3 separate regions of the Homo sapiens genome follow, and regions 2 and 3 are each linked to region 1. The links are contacts of gene promoters, found by promoter capture Hi-C in blood cells and fetal thymus (Javierre and others, 2016). All regions are on one chromosome and are shown on one strand. Each heading gives the region's core, a stretch centred on a gene start or on the middle of the fragment in contact. The rest is flanking DNA. Distances are from core to core; before and after follow the strand shown.

Evidence for each region. Contacts are between HindIII fragments. The CHiCAGO score rates a contact against its expected background, and 5 or more counts as called.
Region 2: a contact is called between a fragment that was not itself captured here and the fragment with the promoter of IL22RA2 in region 1, in 1 of 17 cell types (monocytes). The highest score is 5.4, in monocytes.
Region 3: a contact is called between a fragment that was not itself captured here and the fragment with the promoter of IL22RA2 in region 1, in 1 of 17 cell types (total CD4 T cells). The highest score is 5.9, in total CD4 T cells.

Annotation. Positions count from the first base shown.
Region 1 is chr6:137,170,721-137,175,541 of GRCh38, forward strand. It overlaps IL22RA2 (interleukin 22 receptor subunit alpha 2), which reads right to left and starts at 2,924. Exons shown (of 7, transcript NM_052962.3): 1 at 2,693-2,924. RefSeq lists enhancers at 1,024-1,782, 1,679-1,898. The HindIII fragment of the contact is 14,362 bases long and covers 526-4,821 here.
Region 2 is chr6:137,677,034-137,681,854 of GRCh38, forward strand. No RefSeq gene overlaps it. Among named protein-coding and RNA genes, the nearest start is that of LINC03004, 14 kb to the left of the region's middle. RefSeq lists an enhancer at 3,960-4,821. The HindIII fragment of the contact is 4,653 bases long and covers 430-4,821 here.
Region 3 is chr6:137,626,914-137,631,734 of GRCh38, forward strand. No RefSeq gene overlaps it. Among named protein-coding and RNA genes, the nearest start is that of LINC03004, 36 kb to the right of the region's middle. The HindIII fragment of the contact is 868 bases long and covers 1,482-2,349 here.

The sequences.
Region 1 (4,821 bases), core at 1,674-4,173:
CAACAGACCCAGGGCTTACATACCACCGGGAAAGGGCCTGCGTGATTCAGAAGGGATGTATATGACAATTGAAGTATCATAACATCAAGGTGGTTTTGACGTACAGGCAGGACTTATGACAAGTATGTGTTCTCATACAAGGAACAATCGATAAACTAGAAATCTTAGAAGCCTTCCTGAAAAAGGATTAATCAGAAGTCAACATGGCAGATTAGCATCTAAAAATGAAGTTGCTTCAGCCTCCGCAAGTCATAAAGGTTTTTTTGTTGTTGTTAAAAAGAGAGGCTCTTTAGATCAAAAGGGGAAATGTATACTGGTTTCTATTTTCTCTTGTATAGTCTCTTTCAAGTTCTTGGTAGAATAGCTCCTTTAGTAAGGAATAATGATGGCTGCTAAGCAGTATCCATCCATGCAGCTATCCAATAACATTTCACAAATATTTGCTGTCCTACCATAAACTAGGAATTAGTCTCAGCAGCAAGGATGCAGCAGCAGATAAGAGAGACATTGCCCCTGCCTTCCTTAAGCTTGCTTCTCAAGGGAAAAGTAGAGAATAAGGAGCTACAGCAGGGTTACAACTTCTATTCATCTAACCTTCTCTGTCTTTTTCTTCTCCTTCTTAAATGGGAGATGAAAAGTTTCAGAAGCCGGCTTGCAAAGCCACTTTGCCTCCCACCCTCCATCACAACCATTAACCAAGACTAGAATGTAGGAGGGGAAGCAGGTAAAATGAAAGTGCTAAAAGGAGAGGGTTGGGTGCTGCTGATGTGGAGGAGGCAGAGTCTTCAAAGAGAAAGGGAAGAATGGCCTTCTGCATACAGACAGGAGCAGAGGAGTTGTTCTCAAGTGTAGACCCTCCATCCCAACCCCATGACCCAGCACCTGTGAACATTTCTAGACACTCGGGTGCCTGAGACTGTGAGGCCTTGGGTGGAGCTGGGGCCACGCAGGGAAAACCTTATTCCTGAGCAAAGGGTCTTAGAAGAGAGCTTATCAGAAATTTCCTCAGAAACCAGATCCCAGTGGACCAGGCCACTATCAATTTTCATTTAACAAATTTCAGTTATTGGAGGGCAGTTGCGCTGCATGCTTTCTGAGGCCAGCCCTATGTGGAAAGGTTTGTGTGGATAACATCAGGTTTCCCAGTGCCTCTGTTCTACGGCAGTCTTCTGAATCCAGGCTTGTATCTCCTCCAGCTGAAGTTTTTGGTGCTTATAAGGTAGCTTCTGCTTTGAAAGAAGAAACATGCAGCACGTTTTATGTTCCCTTTTCACCTCTTCATGCTCCTTAGCTTGCAACCTTCTCAGCATTGTTATTCACTTCCCTGCTAATGTTTACCACTTCACATTTACTTTGGTATTTAAATGGGGGATGATAATGTGGGTTTGCACTATTGATGTTCAATGGCTTCAATACCAATAGATCTCATTTTGAAGCCACCAAATTGCTCCAAGTTCCAGCTAAGAATAAAAGGAAAATATTTAAATTCGAGGTTTTATGATGAGAGCAGCAGAGAACGAAATTGAGGTTTCCACTGGGTTGCTGACTTTGTCAAACAAATGAGGGGAAATTAGGCGGAGTGGGATAAGCAAAACATATTTAAGAACTGAATTCTCCCCAAAACGTGAGCTTTGGTGCTCTATTAAATTTCACAAACCAGACCAGTTCTGTCACTGTTCAATTAGCTCTAGTTGTGTAATAGAACCTGCATAAAAGCCAACACTGTCAACAAGGCCTCAAGGTAGATGAAAAGATAAAATTAAATTCTAATTTCCCATCAATCTGGAAGCAGAAGAATTTGTACAGAATTGTTTCAAATGAAATGCTGTTTTGTTTGGGAAGTAAGAAAGTTTTAGTCACTAGGGGATCTCCGCTCTGCCTCCTTTCAGGCATGAAATGCTGGCTTCATTCCCTGCCCTCCCCCGACCTCGGCCCCACTCCGCAGCAGGGAGAGTCCACCTTGACGGTGACAACGGGTATTTCCATCATCGTGTTGACTCTGGAGAGAACTTGCTTAAGCCCCTGTCTTGAACAGATTTGATTCTCTTCTTCCTTTCTTCTTGTGGCTTCCAGCAGACCAACCATTTATCTAATTAAGGAATCATTTTTCATTGTTTTTAGGTGTGATGTGGAATTTTGGTTATTATTTTTATTTTTTTTTAGAGCTACCTATTATAGTACTACAGATGAAATGGTGTCATGTCTGGGATTTGCTTCAAAATAATACAAAGGCCTGGGAAAGGGGGTTACCATCCATGAGCTGATAACTGTTGAAATTGGGTGTCAGGTTTATTATACTCTACTTTTGTATGTACTTAAAATTGTTCATAACAAAGAAAAAAGATTTTTAAAGTTTATCTACAAGATGTGGCCAGACACGGTGGCTCACACCTGTAATCTCAGCACTTTGGAAGGCGGAGGTGGGTGGATCATTTGAGGTGTGGAGTTCCAGACCAGCCTGGCCAACATGGTGCAACCCCGTCTGTACTAAAAATACAAAAATTAGCCAGGCGTGACGGTGTGTGCCTGTAATCCCAGCTACTCAGTGGGGCTGAGGCAGGAGAATTGCTTGAGTCAAGGAGGTGAGGTTTGCAGTGAGCCGAGATCGCGCCACTGCGCTCCAGTCTGGGCAGCGATAAAGCGAGAGTCCATCTCAAAAAAATAAATAAATAAATAAATAAAGTTTACTTACCAGATGCTGTCTTCCTTTTGGTAATTTTAATGCCATTTTAGTGTCAATAATAAGATCTAATAATTATGGGACGCCATGTTATGTTTTTCCCATATTTTGTCTTTGTTAATCCTCTTATGAAGTCTAGGAGATTGGTATTATTATTCATTTGATGTTACAGATGAAGAAACTGAGACATAGATAGAGAGGTGGAGAGAACTTGACCAGGGCTCTATAGCGAGTAGTGGTAAAGTGAGGGCTGAAATCAGATCTGGTTAGCCTCAGGGCCTGAGGAGTATTATGAAACTCCTCTTGTGTTATTCTTTGCTTGTAATAGACATTCCATAAAGGGATAGAATGATGTCAAAGAACATTTGTCCATTGGCTTCTCGAATCGTTTATTCAGTCAAACAAATGTTTATTGAGCAACTGTTATATGCCAGGCACTGTGTTAGACATCGGGGATGCAGAAATGAACAAGACTACAGAGCCAGCCCTCAGGGAACCAACAGCATTTTCTTCAACCAGGTCTTGGTAGCAAAGGGCTAAGTGTTTCTTATTGTTTTTCAGAGAAGTGTTTAAAAACTGGTGTTCAGTATGACTTTGGTGCTGTCCATTGAAGGGAAGTCAGAGCAACTGTGTTTCTGCTAGGCCCTTTCCTTCATCCTATGATTTGGTGGGCAGCTGAGCATCTTTTAAAAGTTTCATCATGAATGATAATCTGAACACCACCCTTCTCCCTCTCTGGAAAACTATAGAGCTGTAGAGCCAACAACAGGGAAACAACTTGTTCTTTCTTATTTGCTGGGACATTAATAGCTCCACCGAGTAATATTCATGTCCTTTAAGCAGTTCGGCATTCTGGAAATAATTGGCATGCAAAAATTCAAAATGGTTTGTGAACTTGAATTCAGAAAAGAAAAAGAAACATTGTTATTCAAACACAGGTGATAAGCACAATGACTAATCTGAGTTTTTGGACTGTGATCACTAATATATTATTTAAAATCTCCACTCATAGGACATAGGGCTTAATGAGGTTAACCTTTCCTGCTCTTCACTCTTATTTTTCTGGATAAAAGATGCTATTGATTTTGCTTTGATTATTCTTTAAAAAATTTTTTAAAATTTATTTCTGAAAACCAAAACATAAAGGAGTGGTAACATTTAAAAAATATGTATTTTTTTTATTTCAGTAGCTGTGCAATAGTGCAAGTGGTTTTTGGTTACCTGGATGGATTGCACAGTGGTGAAGTCTGAGATATTATTGCATCTCTTACCCGAGTAATGTACATTGTACCCAATATGTAGCTTTGATTATTCTTCACCCAAGGTCACCTTGAAACCCCTACCAGATATCATCAATCATTATGCCCATGCACCAGTATGTTTGTATGTATTGTTTGATCCTGAAAATATCTTCATGGCATAACCAGAATCCAACTGGTTTTCACCTCCTCCACTGTACCCATTTGGTAACCTGCTATCATCATCTCTTGTGTGGACTGTGGCCACAGCCTCCTTACTGGTCTGCCTGCCTCTGTCACTGTTCTCTGCATCAGGTGGAGTGTTCCTATTAAATGTCAGAATAGAACATTTTATTCAGAACCCTGTGATGCCTTCCCATCTCACTCAGATTGAAAGTCAACATTTTTCCAGTCCCTTACTAAGCCCTATATAACCAGGTCCTGTTACCTCTAAATTTATTTCCTACTGCTCTCCTCCCAACCCATGGTGCTCCCTCCTGGGTGGTCTTTTTGCTGTTTCTCAAACATATCAGGCACATCCCTACATTAGCAAGGTTCCCTCTGCTCCAATGCTCTTCCTGAGATGTCCAGGCTCACTCCCTCACCTCCTTCATGTCTCTGCTCAAATATTATCTTATCAGTGAATTCTATGACACCCAAAATAGCAGTCCCCAACAGCTGTCCCTGGCACCTTTATCTGTTTGTTTTCCAAAACATTTATCATCATTTGGCAGGCTATGTTTCATTTTATTCTTGTTGTCTATCTCCCCAACTAGGATATAAGCTCCACGAGGTCAGGGATGTTATGTGTTTTGTTCACTGCTTTAACTCTAGCACTTAGGACAAGGCTGGGGACACAGTAAGCCCTTATCACATGTCTAGTGAATCAAAAAAAAGGAATGT
Region 2 (4,821 bases), core at 1,506-4,005, 510 kb after region 1:
TCTGAATGTAACTATACAAGTGCCAGAATGAAACCGAAATGAATCTCTCTAAAATTTGATTGTAGGTAGATTTCTGACTATACCTCAAAAGCCACAGGAAAGAGAAGAAATGCTTAACAGATCTGACTACAAAAAAAGCAAGTGGCAAAAACAATAAACAAAGTTAAAAGACAAATAACAAATTGGAAGAAAATATTTTAAGTATTTAATCACAGATACAGAGTTAATATCCCTATTATGTAAGAATTTGTAAAATTGAGGAAACACTGACAGTACTATCTTAAAGTGGGCACAAGACATGAAAATTTCCCAAAAAGAGATATAAACATGGCCCTTAAACATAGAAAAACATGTACAATTTCACTCGTGAAATTAAAATTGAAACTACACAGAGACTCTTCTCATTCACCAGATTAGCAACTATTCAAAAGCTTGATAATACATTCCATTGAAGAGACTCTAGGGAAATACACACTCTCAAACACTGATCATGGAAATGCAAAATGGTATAGCCTCATGAAGGGGGATTTGTCAATATCTAACAAAACCACACAGACATTTACTCTTCAATTAAGGAGTCCTAATTCCAGGAATATATCATGAAGATACATCTTCAAAATACCAAAATATGGGTCAGTTGTAGTGGCTCATGCCTGTAACCCCAGCAATTTGGTAGACTGAGGCAGGCAGTTACAGACCAGCCCGGCCAACATGGCAAAGACCCATCTCTACTAAGAATACAAAAAAATTTAGCCAGGCGTGGTAGCATGTTCCTGTAATCCCAGCTACGCAGGAGGCTGAGGCACGAGAATTGTTTGAACCTGGGAGGTGGAAGTTACAGTGAGCCAAGATTGCGCCACTGCACTTCAGCCTGGAAGATAGAGCCAGACTCTGTCAAAAAAAAAAAAAAAAAAAAAAAAAAAAGGAAGTACATACATACAAGGTTCTTAACTGCAGCATTATTTGTAATAGCAAAATATTGGGAACTATCTGAATACCTTGGAGTACTTCACACAACAGAGTACTACACAATTTCACTAAAAAGTATTTCTATGAACTTCAGGAGATAAGTTTTTTTTTAAAGCCAATTGTAGAAGAGCATCTACAATATGCTACCTTTTGTGTAAGCAAGGAGAAATAAGAAAATACACAAGTCTGCTCTTTTTTGGAAAAAGAAACACAGGAAAAATAAACCAGAAGACAATGAAATCACTTACCTACAAAAGGTGAGGGAAAATCAGACAGAAGTGATAGAGAAGGCAGTGATACTTCTCTGCATAAACCTCTACGAAATGGATAACATTACTACATTGAAGTGGGGGTTGCAGGGGCAAAGAACTAATTCAGGTAACTTTAAAGACAACACTTTGATAATATACTTTTACTCTAGGGAAAAAAATAAAGAACTTCAAATGCATCTTAATTTCTTTTTACTTGATTTGATTTGATATGCATGGTGATTTGGGTATAGCAATTCTGAAACGATTTTATGTGTGTTTTAGAACTGGGAAAATGAGTCAGTGTTCTGATGCTGTTGAAAGGCAGAATTCTCATTGTGGAAGAAGGGAGATTCAAAGATGGAGTGGGTGGGGGGAAGGCAAAAAAGAAACTCGTGGAGTGGGATTGATATTGAAAGTATCAGTATAACTGCAGAATTTCTATGACATGTATAGACAAGCCTTTGTGTGTGTGTATGTGTGTATGCATCTCTGTGTGTGTAGCTTTCTTAGCTCTATCCTCAAAAAGGGCCTGGAGGCAGACCCCCTCAGTAACAATGAAAACATCTAGTGCTAAGATTTTGGTTTCTAAATACCATTCCCCATGATAAGTAAAGAGAGGTCCTTTGAGAAATGGCTGATTCCTGCGCTGGAACAGGGATGCTACTTGATGGGTCTGAAATATCTTGTTGAACCAGAAAGCAAGAAAGTGTTGTTTTAAACAAAAATTATGGGAGCATATCAAAAGGGAGCCAGCTTAAAGGGGATCCAACTTTCCAAGTCTGTGACAATCTGAGCATTAAAAGTATTAATAACAAAGGCCGAGTATGGTGGCTCATGCCTGTAATCCCAGCACTTTGGGAGGCTGAGGTGGGCAGATCACAAGGTCAGGAGTTCGAGACCAGCCTGGCCAAAGTGGTGAAACCCCGTCTCTACTAAAAAATACAAAAATTAGCTGGGTATGGTGGTAAGCGCCTGTAATCCCAGCTATTCAGGAGGCTGAGGCAGGAAAATCACTTGAAACCAGAAGGTGGAGGTTGAAGTGAGCCAAGATTGTGCCAGTGCACTGTAGCCTGGGGGAAAAAATGAAACTCCTTCTCAAAAAAAAAAAGCATTAATAAGAAAAATGAAGTATAACCCATGGATAAAATTGGAATCTATATATTCATACTAATAATAGGGAAGAAGGGAGAGAGGAAGAGAGGCAAAGAGGAGAGAAGTGAGAGAGGGGAGAGAAGAAAGAGGAAAGGGAGAGAGAGAGAGAGGAAAGGGGAGGGAGAGAGACATTTCTTATAGAACAAAAGAACACCTACCAATAAATGTGGAGAGAGTGGGTAAACATGTAATATCAACAGTTTACAGCCATTATAGCAAACTTGAATTAGAGCAAGAATCAAGTTTAGGAAGAAAAGTGTGATGAGGAGTAGAATATTTGCATGGGCTTAAAGTGTCTTTCAACATATTGCTTACTAGTTGCAAGGGAGAAAATAGAAATTCTATAGTGAAGAAAATGAACAAGAGTTTGATCAGGTGATCAAAATTAATATAATGAATGAATGAGGAGCAGATGGATATTTTATGCCTGGGATACCTGAGGAGGACACAGAATTGTTTATGTAGTTTTGTGGCCAGGGAGGAAACATCAGCAAACCCAAATGGAGAAACATTCCATAAAACTACTGGCTTTTGCCATGAAAGGCAAAGGAAAGACTAAGGAACTGATCTAGGTTAAAAGAGACTAAAGAAACAGACAACTAAATGTAATCCATGGTCCTGTACTGGCTTCTGGACTGGAAAGGGTAAAAAAGTTATAGAGGACATTACTGAGATAATTGGAAAAAATATACATAAAACTATTGCATCAAAGTGTCCTGAATTTGATAACTGTACTATGGTTATGTAAGAGAATGCCAGGCTGGGCACAGTGGCTCACGCCTGTAATCCCAGCACTTTGTGAGGCCGAGGTGGGTGGATCATGAGGTCAAGAGTTCAAGACCAGCCTGACCAACATGGTGAAACCCCATCTCTACTAAAAATACAAAAATTATCTGGGCGTGGTGGCACACACCTGTAATCCCAGCTACTCAGGAGGCTGAGGCAGGAGAATTGCTTGAACCTGGGAGACTGAGGTTGCAATGAGCCAAGATCACAGCACTGTACTCCAGCCTAGGTGACAGAGTGAAATTCTGTCTCAAAAATAAATAAATAAATAAAGAATAAAGAATGTCCTTAGTCTTAGGCAATAATTAGAAAATATTAAGAGGTAAAAGAAAGTGTAAAAGGCTTACCCCTCAAATGATTCAAAAAATATAAAAGAGTACAGACATGGGCAAACAGAAAAACAATGATTTTTAAATTGTGGTTAAAATGTTAAAAATTTTAGAAATCTGGGTAAAGGATATATGAATATTTTATGTATTGTATAAAAAATTTTGTAAGTTTGAAATTATTGCAAGAAGTTTTTCTAAACATATGATTAAAAGATTTAAAAAATTCTGACTGCTCTTCACCCAAATAGATTGAAATTAGTAAGAAATGGCTCTAATTTGTAGTACCCTGGGAGCCTGTGAAAATTTCTATAATGATACCCACCTAGTCTCTATGAGTGAATCACACGCCAGAAACATCTGCCCTGTGATTCTATGGAGATTTCTGACATCTATAAATTTGAAGGAGTATGTTTGAGAAGAAAAGCAGAAGTTTCCTGCTACTTAAGTCTAGAATGAAACAGGATTCATAATCTCTATATTTCGGAGCTAATCAAGTGGCAATGTCAATGGGGGAAATCCAGGTCAACTTTAATTCCCATCATGACTAAGTGGCAGAAAGACTCAGAATACAATGACCTAGAACTGACCTCAGGGAGAAATCACAGTCAAATCAAGATCGCTAATTTCCAGGATTCTTGGTAAGGATGACTCAGCAATTCATAAATCTCAACATTTACAATAAACACAAACCTACGTCACATGTCTTTTACTCTCAAATAGGTAGTACAGTACCAAGCTGCTTCTCAGGACTACATATAGTGTTTATATATTCTTTAAAAAGATAAGTTCAGATAGAGACATAGTTTACCAAGTATAAAGGAAATGTATATAACCGTCTTAAATGTATTAGACATTAAAAATCTAGTATGCTCATTACCCACCTTGAATTTCTTAGCTCTGGAAGATAGCATATTCTTCAAAAGCTATCAGTTTCATTACCTAAGAAATAGAGACAATATTGATTTTCTTCAAATGTGTTCAACCCTTTTGTTCAAAAAGTAGTCATGTTTTCATTTGAAAGAGAAATCCTAGAAACTGTGTGGTCTGATTGCTTATCCGTTGGTGTATTCTCATAGCATCTCTGGCTTCCCTGTTGATTTATAATACAGCATCATTCAAGGTAAAAAAGAAATTGCTACACTGTGAGTCAATTCATTGCAAATAAGGAATACAAGTTTCAGCTCTGATGTTGATTGTATGATTTAGAGCAAATAATTTATCTCTTTTGGCCTTAGGTTTGTTTGGTTGGTTGGTTGTTTTTGTTTGTTAGTTCTTTGAGACAGGGTCTCACCCAGTCACCCAATTTGGAGTGCAGTGGCGCAATCACGGCTCAC
Region 3 (4,821 bases), core at 666-3,165, 460 kb after region 1:
TCTTCTCATCTTCAAACCCAAGTTCAACTGTCATCTCCAATTTGCAGTCTTTCAAGACTAAGCCCTTTCTCCCTCACACATAAATCAAATGAGAATTATTCCCTTATTACTGCTGTCTTTTAAGTCTTAATTCCTCTATCCATGTATCCATTCATCTGACAACCTTCAACCAGCTATCTGCCATGGCATTGGAGATAAAAAGATGAACAAAATACAATCTGCATCCTTAGGGTCACATACTTTTATTTCCACATTATATTTGAGTTTCCTCCTTACTGAAACCATTTTTATATCTCAGTACTTATCATTGTCTAGCACACAGTAGTTATTCAAAAGATATTTCCTAAACTGAATTGAAAGGAAGAAGCTAAGGAGTAAGATCCGCATCATAAAGATGATACCCCATGGGCAATATATTAGAAGGCATCCAAAGATTTGAGTCCTAAACGACAAATAGAGTGAGACCCAGACTCTCCCTCTCTTTTATTTTAAAGCCCTTCATGTGCTAGGGATTCTTTTAGTCTTCAAATCAAATAACATTTCTTTAGCTTATTAACTCAGGAAATATTTATTGAGATTTTGCCCTATGCCAAGTTATGTATTAGAAATCGAGGAAAAGATAACTATATATATATATTTTTTATATATACACATACACAAACACACACACACACATACACATACACACACACATATACACACAGATATGTGTCTATACAGACACATAGAAATATATCTGCATACAAGTTATAGATTTTTCATGCAATAATAATAATACTTGATATTACTATGTAAATACATATACATATGTGCACACATTAGTATACTATACTTGTCATTACTACATATACATATATATTCTTATACATGTATGTAGACATGTATATCCTTATATATGTATACATAGTAATGTTACAGTATATGTAAGAAAATATGTGACTATGTAGTAATGTCAAATATGGTATACTAATGTGTGTATATATGTATCTTTATATATGTATATATAGTTTTATTTGTGTATGTATATATAGTAATGTTAGAGTATATACAAGGATATATATGCATATGTAGTAATGTCAAGTATAGTATACTAATGTATGTATGGATATATATGTATTTATATAGTAATATAGAGTATTATTATTATTATTGCATGAAAAATCCATAGTTTGTCCTGCCCCTAGGCTCTAGAGTTTTGGCAGGAGTCTATTCTGTTACAAGTGAAGAGCTCAATCATCTTCCTCTTCCACTAGACCAAACACTACGAGGGACTGTGCCTTCTTTCATATTGTCACCCCAGCATAATGTTGGGAATAGTAGCTATTCAGTAAGAATCTGAATAAATGCGTTTTACTGCCATTATTTTGAGTTCCTAACTCTAGAAAGATACTTGCTTATGTCTAAAATAAAAAGGACCCAGTTATTTTTCCATGAAATGGCACATGTTAAAGTGGAATTCATTTTGGATTAGGCAGACCTAAAGCTTTAGATTTGTTTTTACATTTTTGAAAATTTCAGGATTTTCTCTAATTAAAAAAATTTTACACTAGGTATGGTCCTAGGATTAAGAGTAAAGAAGGTCAGCCAGGCGCGGTGGCTCATGCCTGTAATCCCAGCACTTTGGGAGGCCGAGGCGCGCGGATCATGAGGTCAGGAGATCGAGACCATCCTGGCTAATACGGTGAAACCCCGTCTCTACTAAAAATACAAAAAAAATTAACCGGGCGTGGTGGCGGGCACCTGTAGTCCCAGCTACTTGGGAGGCTGAGGCAGGAGAATGGTGTGAACCCGGGAGGCGGAGCTTGCAGTGAGCCAAGACTGCGCCACTGTACTCCAGCCTGGGCAATAGAGTGAGACTCCGCCTCAAAAAAAAAAAAAAGTAAAGAAGATCTTTAGAAAGTTTCTCTTGTATAAGGAAAATGTAAATAGGCTCATTGTAGAGAGAACCATAGCTTTGGGCTTGTCCATGTCATGGAGTTTAAATGTCTCTATAAATAAATTACACTGTCACTATATATATATAGTAATGTGTACGTGTGTGTGTACACATTATATACACACACATATACATATATGGTCTGTGGCCTGTCAGTATGTGTGTGTATATATATGTATGTGTATGTGTATATATATATGTATGTGTATGTGTATATATATATATATACACACACACATATATACACACACACACACATATATATATATGGTCTGTGGCCTGTCAGTATGTGTGTATATATATATGTATGTGTATGTGTATATATATATATGTATGTGTATGTGTGTATATATATATATACACACACATATATACACACACACAGGCTTTATATGATAAGGCTTTATATACAAAGCTTCATTATTATTATACATATATACAGGTATCATTATACACGTATGTATGATTGTGTGTGTGTGTGTATATATATATATGTATAAAGCCTCATTATCAAGAGATATAGCAAGAACACTGGATATAATAAGACTGAGCTCACTAAAGCAAAAGGAGTCAACTGCTTAACTAGGCAAATTTTGAAAATTTCCTTCCAAATCAGTAAAAAGAGGCCCAAGACTCCATAACCAGAAATTCTGATGTTGTATTGCTTGCAACAATTAGAATAAGACGAGATCTCAAATGTATGCTACAGAGCAAGGGTCCTCAACCCCCGGGACCATGGATCCATACTGGTCTGTGGCCTGTCAGGAACAGGCCTCACAGCAAGAGGTGAGCCGTGGGTGGGTGAGCATTACCGCCTGTGCTCCACGCCTCCAGTCAGATCAGTGGGGCCATTGGATTCTCATAGGAGCATGAACCCTATTGTGAACGGCGGATCTAGGTTGCCGGCTACTTATAAGAATCTAGTGCCTGGCGATCTGAGGTGGGAACAGTTTCACCCCAAAACCATCCCCTCCCCAAACCCACTTCCACGGAAAAATTGTCTTCCACGATACTACTCCCTGGTGCCAAAAAGGTTGGGAGCCACTGCTATAGAGGGTTCTCCAAAAGACAGAAAATATTTGTATCAAAAAAAATGACTTTGCCCATGCAGGAGTAGAAAGTACTTAAAATATTGCCTCATTTTAATTCTGAAATCATTTGTTTGAGGTAGCACTTCTAGGCCTCATCTTTTTTTGCCAGAACAATGTCCAAAACCATCAGCGAGATTGAGCTAATGGGCCAGGTGCGGTACCTTATGCCTAGCACTTTGGGAGGCTGAGGCGGGCAGATCACTTGGGGTCAGGAGTTTGAGACCAGCCTGGCCAACATGGTGAAACCCTGTCTCTACCAAAATTACAAAAGCAAATGTATCCAGGCACGGCAGTGCACACCTGTAGTCCCAGCTACTCGGGAGGCTAGGCAGGAGAATCACTTGAACCCGGGAGGCAGAGGCTGCAGTGAGCTGAGACCGCACCACTGCACACCAGCCTGGGCAACAGAGCAAGGCTACATCTCAAAAAAAAAAATTGAGCTAATGAGTGTGAAAGTACTTTGCAAATTCCAAATTACTTTGTATAAGTTAGTTAGTCCTATTTCTCTTGTGCTTTGAGATTCTGACATCGTATCCTGTGGTTCATAATAACTAGATAGCTCTAGTAATTCAAAGCTACATAAAACGTGGTTATTAAGTGAAATCATTAGAAATGTGTCCAGAAAAAAATTGCATTTTCTGAAGGACAGAAAATACACGTATATCTCTCTTGGAGAGTTTCAAGTAAGGGCTGCCTTAGGGTCCCCTATTAATGAGGCCATCTCTGACCCCTTAGGTGTGGATGTTCAGTTGTTACAATGTTTCTAACACTACTCTATTAAAAAGGCCAAAAACTAACTGCACAACAGATGGGCAAGTGCCCATTATGGGCCTGCCCTGTCAGTGCACTCTGCTGCAGCTGTGGTTGGACTTGCTCCCTTGGCAATTCCTGGGCTCACAGTGGTCAGTGAAATACTTAGGCAGGACGTGGAAGGTCCTAAGGTGCTGTGACAATGCTCCAGCCTCTACTCTTGTGTCTGGATGTGAGAGGATATGGCATAGACAGCTGAAAGCCTCAGAAGACAGGTGGAGTCCAGGAAATTCCATTTGCAGCTATCTTTATCAGGGTGAGCTGCAATTGTTTGCTGTGATAGTGAGCTGAAAGCAACAGTTCTATCAGATTATTTTTTAGAGATGACTAAAGTACACTATAGAAAGGAAGTGCTCAAGATCTGTTTGCTGATGTATTGCTTGCTTCATAAAGCTACCTATTAAGAAAGACACAAAATAACGAAATAATAGCCTAAACAATGTTAAAATAGGAAGATAGAAATAGGACTTTCTCTTTCTCATTTCTAAAGTGTGTATAGAGTTCTCTTATTCTCTCTATAGCATTCAGATACCCACTGGGAAGAAAACAAAAACAAAACCAGAAACCATCATAGATATTTCACAATGAGAAAGTTTGTTACAGGGAATTGGTTTCACCAATAATGGGAAAGCTGAGAAGCCAAATAAGGAGCAGCGAGAAACAACCCAGTGCTTAGCAATACAATAGCAGCAAGCTGCTACCACCTTAGGGCTGGAAGGAAGCTGGAGTTGCAGGGTCTGATGAGCCAGAGCTGTACAGCAGGAGTTACCATAGTCAGTACTTCTGGCAGCAACTGGAGCCAGAAGTTTAATTTCCTTATATGGTAAAGCAGAGGTTGTATTGTGCGATTACCTTGACTAAGAACTATCCTCTGACAGAGTTTCCAGGTTACCTCTCTCTCTTTCTGGATGTTCTTGATAGAGACAGAATCCAGTTATATTTTCTCCACTTTGCTAGATGATGTTATGGCCATCTATCTTTTAC